Regions from separate parts of the Homo sapiens genome. Here region 2 is linked to region 1. Evidence: promoter capture Hi-C in 16 types of primary human blood cells and fetal thymus (Javierre and others, 2016). All regions are on one chromosome and are shown on one strand. The core of a region is centred on a gene start or on the middle of the fragment in contact, and the rest is flanking DNA. Distances in the headings are between cores, read along the strand shown. Region 1 holds the start of GSX2 (GS homeobox 2). Region 2 overlaps SCFD2 (sec1 family domain containing 2).

The links. The method cuts DNA at HindIII sites, captures the fragments that hold promoters and counts their contacts. A CHiCAGO score of 5 or more calls a contact.
Region 2: a contact is called between a fragment that was not itself captured here and the fragment with the promoter of GSX2 in region 1, in 1 of 17 cell types (fetal thymus). The highest score is 7.0, in fetal thymus.

The regions. Positions count from the first base shown.
Region 1 is chr4:54,097,786-54,101,764 of GRCh38, reverse strand. GSX2 (GS homeobox 2) reads right to left here and starts at 1,602. Exons shown (of 2, transcript NM_133267.3): 1 at 847-1,602; 2 at 1-183. The coding sequence starts at 1,420. RefSeq lists enhancers at 1-175, 176-967, 968-1,758. The HindIII fragment of the contact is 4,571 bases long and covers 1-2,231 here.
Region 2 is chr4:53,010,691-53,014,244 of GRCh38, reverse strand. All of the region lies in intron 5 of SCFD2 (sec1 family domain containing 2), which reads left to right. Among named protein-coding and RNA genes, the nearest start is that of SCFD2-AS1, 85 kb to the right of the region's middle. The HindIII fragment of the contact is 2,064 bases long and covers 432-2,495 here.

The DNA of each region.
Region 1 (3,979 bases), core at 353-2,852:
GGTTCTGAAACCAGATTTTCACCTGCTTCTCCGACAGGTTCAGGTAAGTGGCGATTTCAATCCTCCGGAGTCGAGACAGGTACATGTTGGAAGAGAATTCTCTCTCCAGCTCCAGGAGTTGCGTGCTAGTGAACGCCGTCCTCATCCTCTTGCCATTGGGTACCTGGCTGGCGTCAGAGCCTCCTGCGGACCGGCGAAGAGAGGGTAGAGAGGTAAGGCTCGGGCAAGGTGCTCCCACCCCATGTGCTAACCAGGACGCATTTCAGGGACCCACCCGGGGAAGCCCAGCCGAACATCTGTATCCCTTTCCCATTTCAAGGCACGTGGTTGCTTAGCGGGGAAGAAAAGAGACGTGCAAAGCAAATAAAGGTCTTCGATGCGCAGGATGCGAAGTCACAGGATTAAAGAGGGATGGGGGCTTGCACTATCTGATCGCCTCCCTTTGAGCCAAGCGGAGAAGCGCGCAGGCTTAGCCAAAAACGTCAAGACGCTTTAGCCGCCCCGACGCGGGGATGCCACACAGGTTCAAACACACCCACCCCAAATCCCAAGCAGTTAACCTCTGGTTTATCCGCCGTGACGTTCGAGGTCCCTAAGGCCCCAGTATTAATAAGGCAATACTCGAGCACCTACTACTAGGAGTAAAACGCACCAGGCTGAGTGGAGAAGCTGGCAAACTAACTTCCACTTTCGTGGAACTTCTGTGGCTGACTCTACGGTTACACTAAAAGCCCGTCCTCTCTCTTCACCCTGTCCCCGGGCTCCCACTTCCTCCACTGGAGGTGGAAAGTTTGCTCCAGGAGCGCGAAAGGCGCGGAGCGCAGGTGCCCCAAGACCCCGCCCTACCCATGGTGAGGCAGTGGAATCTCCGCGGGTCCGCCACGTTGTAGGTGGTGGCGGTGCAGACAGGTGCGTGGTGCTGCGGGTGCCCCAAGGCCGCCGCGGCCGCCGCCGCCGCTGCTGCTGCTGCCGCCGCCGCGGCCGAGCCAGGCTGCTGGGGCTGATGATGGTGATGGTGGTGCTGCGGCGGGTGGTGGTGATGATGCGCATGGTTCACCCGCGGGCAAAACTGCGCGTCCCCAGGAGCCGAAGAGAACTGGCCCTTAAGCAGAGGCAGTGCCCCTGCGGCCCCTGCCACCCCACTGCCTCCGGCCCCGGTAACCCCGGCCCCTGCGCCCCCGCTGCCGGCGCCCACAGACCCCCGAGAGGAGTGCAGGTGCGAAGTGACGCAGAGAGGGCACACGCAGAACGCGCCGCTCTTGCGGGACGGGCAGCCGGGGCCGGACACGGACATCACCAATGGGGGCGGCATGCCAAGCGGGATGAAGAAATCCGGCCCGGGGTGCGGTTCAGGCAGCGAGGGCGCAGGCCGTGAGGTGTCCTTGATGATGAGCGAGTCGACATAGAAGGAGCGCGACATGTCGAGAGGGGTGGGTGGCTGGAAGCCCCGGCAGTTCGCGGCGACCCCTCTCCTCTAGTGTTCTAAGCTCTGCCCTGGGAGCCGCGCAGACACGGGCAGTCAAGCCCTTGGGGACGCAGAGGTGTTGGCGTCTGGGCTGGGAACAAAGGGGTCCCCGGAGAGGGCTGGTCCTCACGTCCCCCGCCCGGCGCCCCGGCTCGGGTATTTTATAGCCCCCCACCCTGGCACGTGATGCTGCGGAGTACCGCTCGGCTCAGGCTCCTCGGCAGCTCCGCACCCTCGGGATAGGCTGCCCGAGTCACAACAGAAGCCGCGAGGAGGGGCGGGCGCGCGGCGGGGAAGAACTCGGGGGAGGGGGATGGGGGAGACTTTGCAAAGTGTAGGTTTTGTTAATTTCCCGGGGAGGCCGGCCTCCTCCCCCTCTTTCTCCACGCTTTACTGAGAAATCACAGCGCTGCATCCTCCATCCCACCCCCTCTCGCTACCCTGGCCGCAGCCCAACTCTTCCCCACGCCCCACCGCAAAGCGTACCAGGTGGGGACTTGGAGGCTTATTTAATAGGAATGCTCAGTGTTTCCAGCTCCTCTGTGGTAGGGGTGGCTGCGGCGCGGTGAAGTGTGAGGCCTGCGGTTTGGAGCAGGATTGTGCGGGCGACGGACTGGCAGTCGTCCAGTCCCTGAGCGCAGCTCTGGCCACGGTTACACCTACCCCTGTCCACAGCTTTTGGACTTGGCAGAGGTCATTCAGGTGGTTAGTTCAGGACTGTCCGGCGCAGAACTGTGAGGCCTCCCAGCTAAGAAACCGTCAAGCTTTTCATGCTGATGTTCGACAAGGTCTGAAGTGTCTTTGTACTTGGGGCCCTCCTGGGGCCACTCAGACCAACGACCCTTCCTTGTTTCCCTTTCTGATCGGCACCTCCCACTTCCGCAGAGAGAGAGAGATGTTGAAGAGTCACCCTTTTCTTTCTCCAAGTAGTAACACCATGGCATTCCAGGGCAATCCTACAAACTCCATCCTGAAGATTTTGGAGGGAGGACCTCAAACACCAAGCCCTCCTAAAGACGCAGCAGGGATTAGATAGACCTTCGCTCTGGGTCTGAGGATTTCCTGTCCCTCATTTTTACCAATCATGGGCAGCTTAGCAAGGCTAACCAGGAAGCACTCTTTCCTCTGCATCTTAAGAACCTAAAAAGGATGAAGAGGATTCAGCCATCCAGGGAATCTTGCCTCTGATTGGCAGAAGTGGCTTTGTAAGGGAACTCTCTCTGGTCCATGGAAGTCTTGCACACCCCTTACTGCCCGAGAGAGGGTGGCTGCCAAACTATTGGGACTATTTATCTTCGGAGAAGGCAAGGCAGCAGAGGTGGCCATTTTCTCTCTTCATTTCCCCCTGCAGAAAAGCGGGCTGGGGCCATGTGGTTGGGCAATAGTTAGAAGTCTGATCCTTTTTCCAGAGCAGCTAACTTCAATCCTGAGTTCATGATGGTGCTAAGAAACTTAGAGACAGGACTCCCTCCACCTGAGAGAACAAGGTGCCCAAATCCAGGAGAGCACTAGCTAGAGGCACGGCTCTATCTTTCCATCCTCTGTCTTCCCCTCTCCATCTCTGTGACAGTCTCTCTTGCCTGCTAGAGAAGTGTAATTGGGTTGTAGGGATGCCCGGCTCTGGGGAGCCCAGGATTTATGGATGGCAATTAAAGTTTTATGAATTGCAGCTGAGGCTGGTTATTGAGCTATTTGAATGTGATTAGAATTCAATTAGAAAGCGGTTAGTGGACGGTGGGTCTCTGGAGTGTAAACAGACAGCTATTCCAGAAATGTGCTAATCCAACATCTTGTGACAACAATTAAGGAGTCTCAGGGCTTAACATGGGGCAGCTCAGCTGTAACTACTTTTGTACCACAAGGTCTGCAGACGCTCAGGCTCACCCCAGCCCGCCCTTGTTCATGACTGGAGGATCTAGGCAATCCCCGAAATCATTTCAGCCCCAAGAAGAAGGCTTGGAGCCACTGATGGAGAATGGCAATAAAAAACATACCCTGCTGAATGGCAGGATATTTTTTACAGTCCTAAACTGTCCAAATAGATGACTCGATTCCCCCCATTCACTTTGCAACTATACAAGCATATATAGATATAGATACAGATACTCTTTAAGAATAATAGCTTTCTCTCTTTTCCTCCTCTGGGTTAGGTCCCAGGTTATCCACAGTCTGTTTTGGGCTGATGGTTTGAGTCACAATGTTCCCAGCAGTTTGGGATGTGTTCAGAGGAAGAGCTCCTATGCTAAAGTCCTAGAAATCGCACCCATGTGCAGACCATTTTACCTTAGAGAATCTTAACTATGCAAGAGGCTTGTGCATCTTATTCAATTTGTGTCTGACTGTGGAAACTTTCATTTTTCAGTGCCAAGGAGTTTTGAGAAATGTGAGGGGCTCATGGGGTTTCCTAAAGACTTCAAGGGGAGCAGTGGTTTCAGACCAGGCTGAGGCTGAAAGCAAGACCATGTCTGAAAAACTTGACCCTTAGGGTACTTGGTTAATTCCTTCAGCCCACCA
Region 2 (3,554 bases), core at 214-2,713, 1.1 Mb after region 1:
TGGAACAATCACTGCCACTCCATCTCCATACCAACTCCTTTCACCCTGGAGGAAGCCTCCTCTGTCTCATAGCACTCTGCACTTCCACATCATAGCGCCTACCATACCATAATGTAAACAGGTCCACCCATTTACCTCCCTGCATCCCCTGCACATGGCAAAGGGTGTATGTCTGTTTTTCTCCGGGACCCAACACATGCTCAGCACCTCAGGCTTAATAAAGATGAGTTAACTCAAATTAGTTAATTTAATTCCAAGTTGCTCTCTCATATAGCATCTCTGTATGGGACTTCAAAATACCAGATATTTTTTAGTTGACCCTTTTTATTTTATACTGAAGCCTTTTCATAAGATGGGAGGACTATAAAATCCCTCCCCTGCACGGAATCCAAGCAATAATACCTTTCCTTCAGTGGTAAACATGTGAAGCTTCTTGGAATTTAAAAAACTATTTTTTAATAAGGAGATATACAGTCTGGGATCTGCCCTTGAGCCTGATTTCTCATCTATAAATGAGGAGATGGGCCTAATGATCTCAGAGGACGTTCCAGCAAAAGTTATTCTCAGAAGCCATATAATAAATGTTATAAAACTACCTTATTACTGCCAACATTTCACATAATATTAAGATTTTGAAGAGTACTCATGAGTAGTTTTGACAGAAATTGTAGAGACTATCTCCCCACCAACCTCTAGAACATAACAGCTAAATGATTTTCGTTGACTAATTGAATGAATGAGGAAAAAAAGCCACATGGCAAAATCCCAAGTAATAAAAAAGGAAATATTCTCACAGTTGAAGGAATTTTCAAGAAGGAAAGGGAGAATTGTCTGCAAGGGTACAAGGTGACATTTATAGTGAAAGGAATTATTTAAGTTCTTCCATTATTTATTTACACAGGAAAGGGCCCATGAATTTACAGTGAAAAACTCTTCTAATAAGGGAATTAAGGCTATGAAACTAACATAGCTGTATTTACCAGTACTTGATAAATGTCATCAGCTAATGATTTGATGAGATATCTTTGTAACATTTAGTCACAAGGAGTCCTGGGAAAGTACTGTAGGTGTAAAGGAAGAATGGCCTATTCTAAGCAGATTTTGTTTCCTTGTCTCTATTAGATGGCTGTTTTTCTGGAGCTTCTAACAGTTTTCAAACACAGAGTGCAAATGTGTTTGTTGTCAGTGAGGCCGCCATTTGGAGTTGGTGCAGGAGCTCTGCAGCTCCTTTTCTATGTAACAGTGGAAGTGTGGTGGAGTTCAGTCTAGCTAGGGCCCCTTCCTGTCATAAATAAGATTACTTTCATTTCACTTGTGGAGTGTGCTATTCCTCAGAGTAATGAATTTCCTCTGTGCCTTTGAGCATATAAACATGGTTTTCATTAGCTTTCTCTCTCTTAAAAAAAAACACACACACACACACACACACAGAAAGGAGGGGAGAGGGAGAGGGAGGTAAAAGAAAGAATCTGAGCAAAATTAATAAGATGTCAATTAACTCCATAAATGCAGATGCCTTTTTTGCCGACTGGCTAGAACATGCTGATGAGCAGTACCAGAAAAGCACTGGTTCATCTCTCCTGAAATGCTAAGAAAATGAAATGGGGTAGAGAAAGGTAAAAATTTTATCCTACATGAACAAAGGAATGAAAGAAAAATAAAGAGAGAAAAGAATATTCTTTTTTGAATCTTGCTGTTAGGAGAACTATTTCAAACAGGCCATGAGAGTGGCCCCTCGGACCAAATAGCCAGCCCTGGGTTCTTCTGGAATTATGGGCACTTCACAGAGGACCAACCTATTTGACCAGGATCACAGTGCAGCCTCTGCCTCCACTTCCCTGCCTTTTGTGTGTGTGTGTGTGTGTGTGAGAGAGAGAGAGAGAGAGAGAAAGAGAGAGAGAGATTTTATGCTAATAAGGTATCCCAGCCTTTCCCTATTTCAAATTTACCCCTCTGTGACTTGTAAGCCATGCAATTCGTAGGGCTAAATATGCAGTTGTTCGATTTCACGGTTTGGAATCTCTTGTCAAGGGGTGAGTCATTATAACACGGCTGGGCTTTTCTCATTGTTGATGGTGCATACTTGAACCTGAAAACTATTTAGGATCCATTGACCCTTTGACTTCTGCCAGGATCTTTCTTGCTGTTGTTTTTGGAAATTTGTGGGGCAGGGAGTAGGGGGATGGAGTCCTCTCAAATTAACCCATAGAAGGAGTTAAGCTATTAAAAAAAAAAAAAAAAAAGCCTAAAACCTGGTTTTTCAAAATTACTTATTCTCAATGAAAAATCCCCAGATTTGTGTTCCCAGAACCTTTTCCTCTCCCCACAATCAATGTCGGTTTCAGCCTCCAATTCATAGTATATTATGTACTTGTTTATCCTCTAGAGAGGAAGAAATAATAATGTTATGAAGGCATCAAGGAATTAAATTCCAGGCCACAGGTTGTCACTGACAATTCACTGCAGACCAAACTTGTAACCCAGATAAAGAAGCTTGAAGCGTTTCACAGTGAGGTGTCTTCCAGCTTTGACCTCCTGGATAGGTGTTCTTGTTACAGTTTAGAAGTGCAGCTGGTTTCTATTTGAAATGAGAAGAATGGAGTTATTTAAGGAGCCAGTGCCTCTCATAGGTGAAATCGGCTTTGCTGAAATGTACACAACACACTACAAGGAACCTTAAAAACAAACTTCCATTTCACTTAGCTGCAGCACAGGAAATTGTTTCTGGCTTGTTTTTGTTGTGAACAGAGAGAACACTGCATATTAGAAATTCCCTGTAGTTGTTTAATATTTGCTCAGTAGTGTCCTGGTTCCTAATCAAGTCCTTCTTCTCACTAAATCCTGTCAACTCTGTCACTGTTTTGATTGGAAGCATGAATTGTAACACTGAAAAATCTCTCAGGACAGTAAACCTCTGCAGCTGTGGAAGGCTGGAGCTATTTACTGGTATTATTAAAGGAACCTGAATGACTTCTTTGGGGGGGAAAAAAAAGCAAAGATGCAGTGAAATTCATAAGGTGCACAGAGATTTAGGATGAAGGTTTTATTATGAGCACAGCCTCATAATACTATCCTCATAGAAAGAATACAGAATAGTAACAATTGTTTCATGAGTTGGCAAACATAATATTCTGATGTCTGCCTTTTTTAGGGGGAAAATAAAGTCCAAATGTAAAATATGAAATCAGACATAGCTAGTGCTTTGGAACAGTGTTTGAACTGGATGCTTTTTCAAGGTACGCTATAGAAACAAATGTCACCTTTATTTCCTGAAGGCATTTTGAAGAGTTTGCCGTTGGTCTTTTAAGGCATGAATTTTCTGGAACAAAAGAGGTGCAGAAATTTTAAATTGTCACCATTCTAAGGACATAACTGATTACACTACCTGCTGCTATGTATTTGGGATCTGAGGAACGTCCTGAGAGTGTAAAGACATATGTTGGAGAGGCTGGACCGCGCCCCCCAGCCCGGCCCCAAAATGGGAAAAGAAGCAAAAGGAATGAAAACTTTCACTTGAGAGAGGTGACCAATACCATACCTAAGATGTTTCTCTT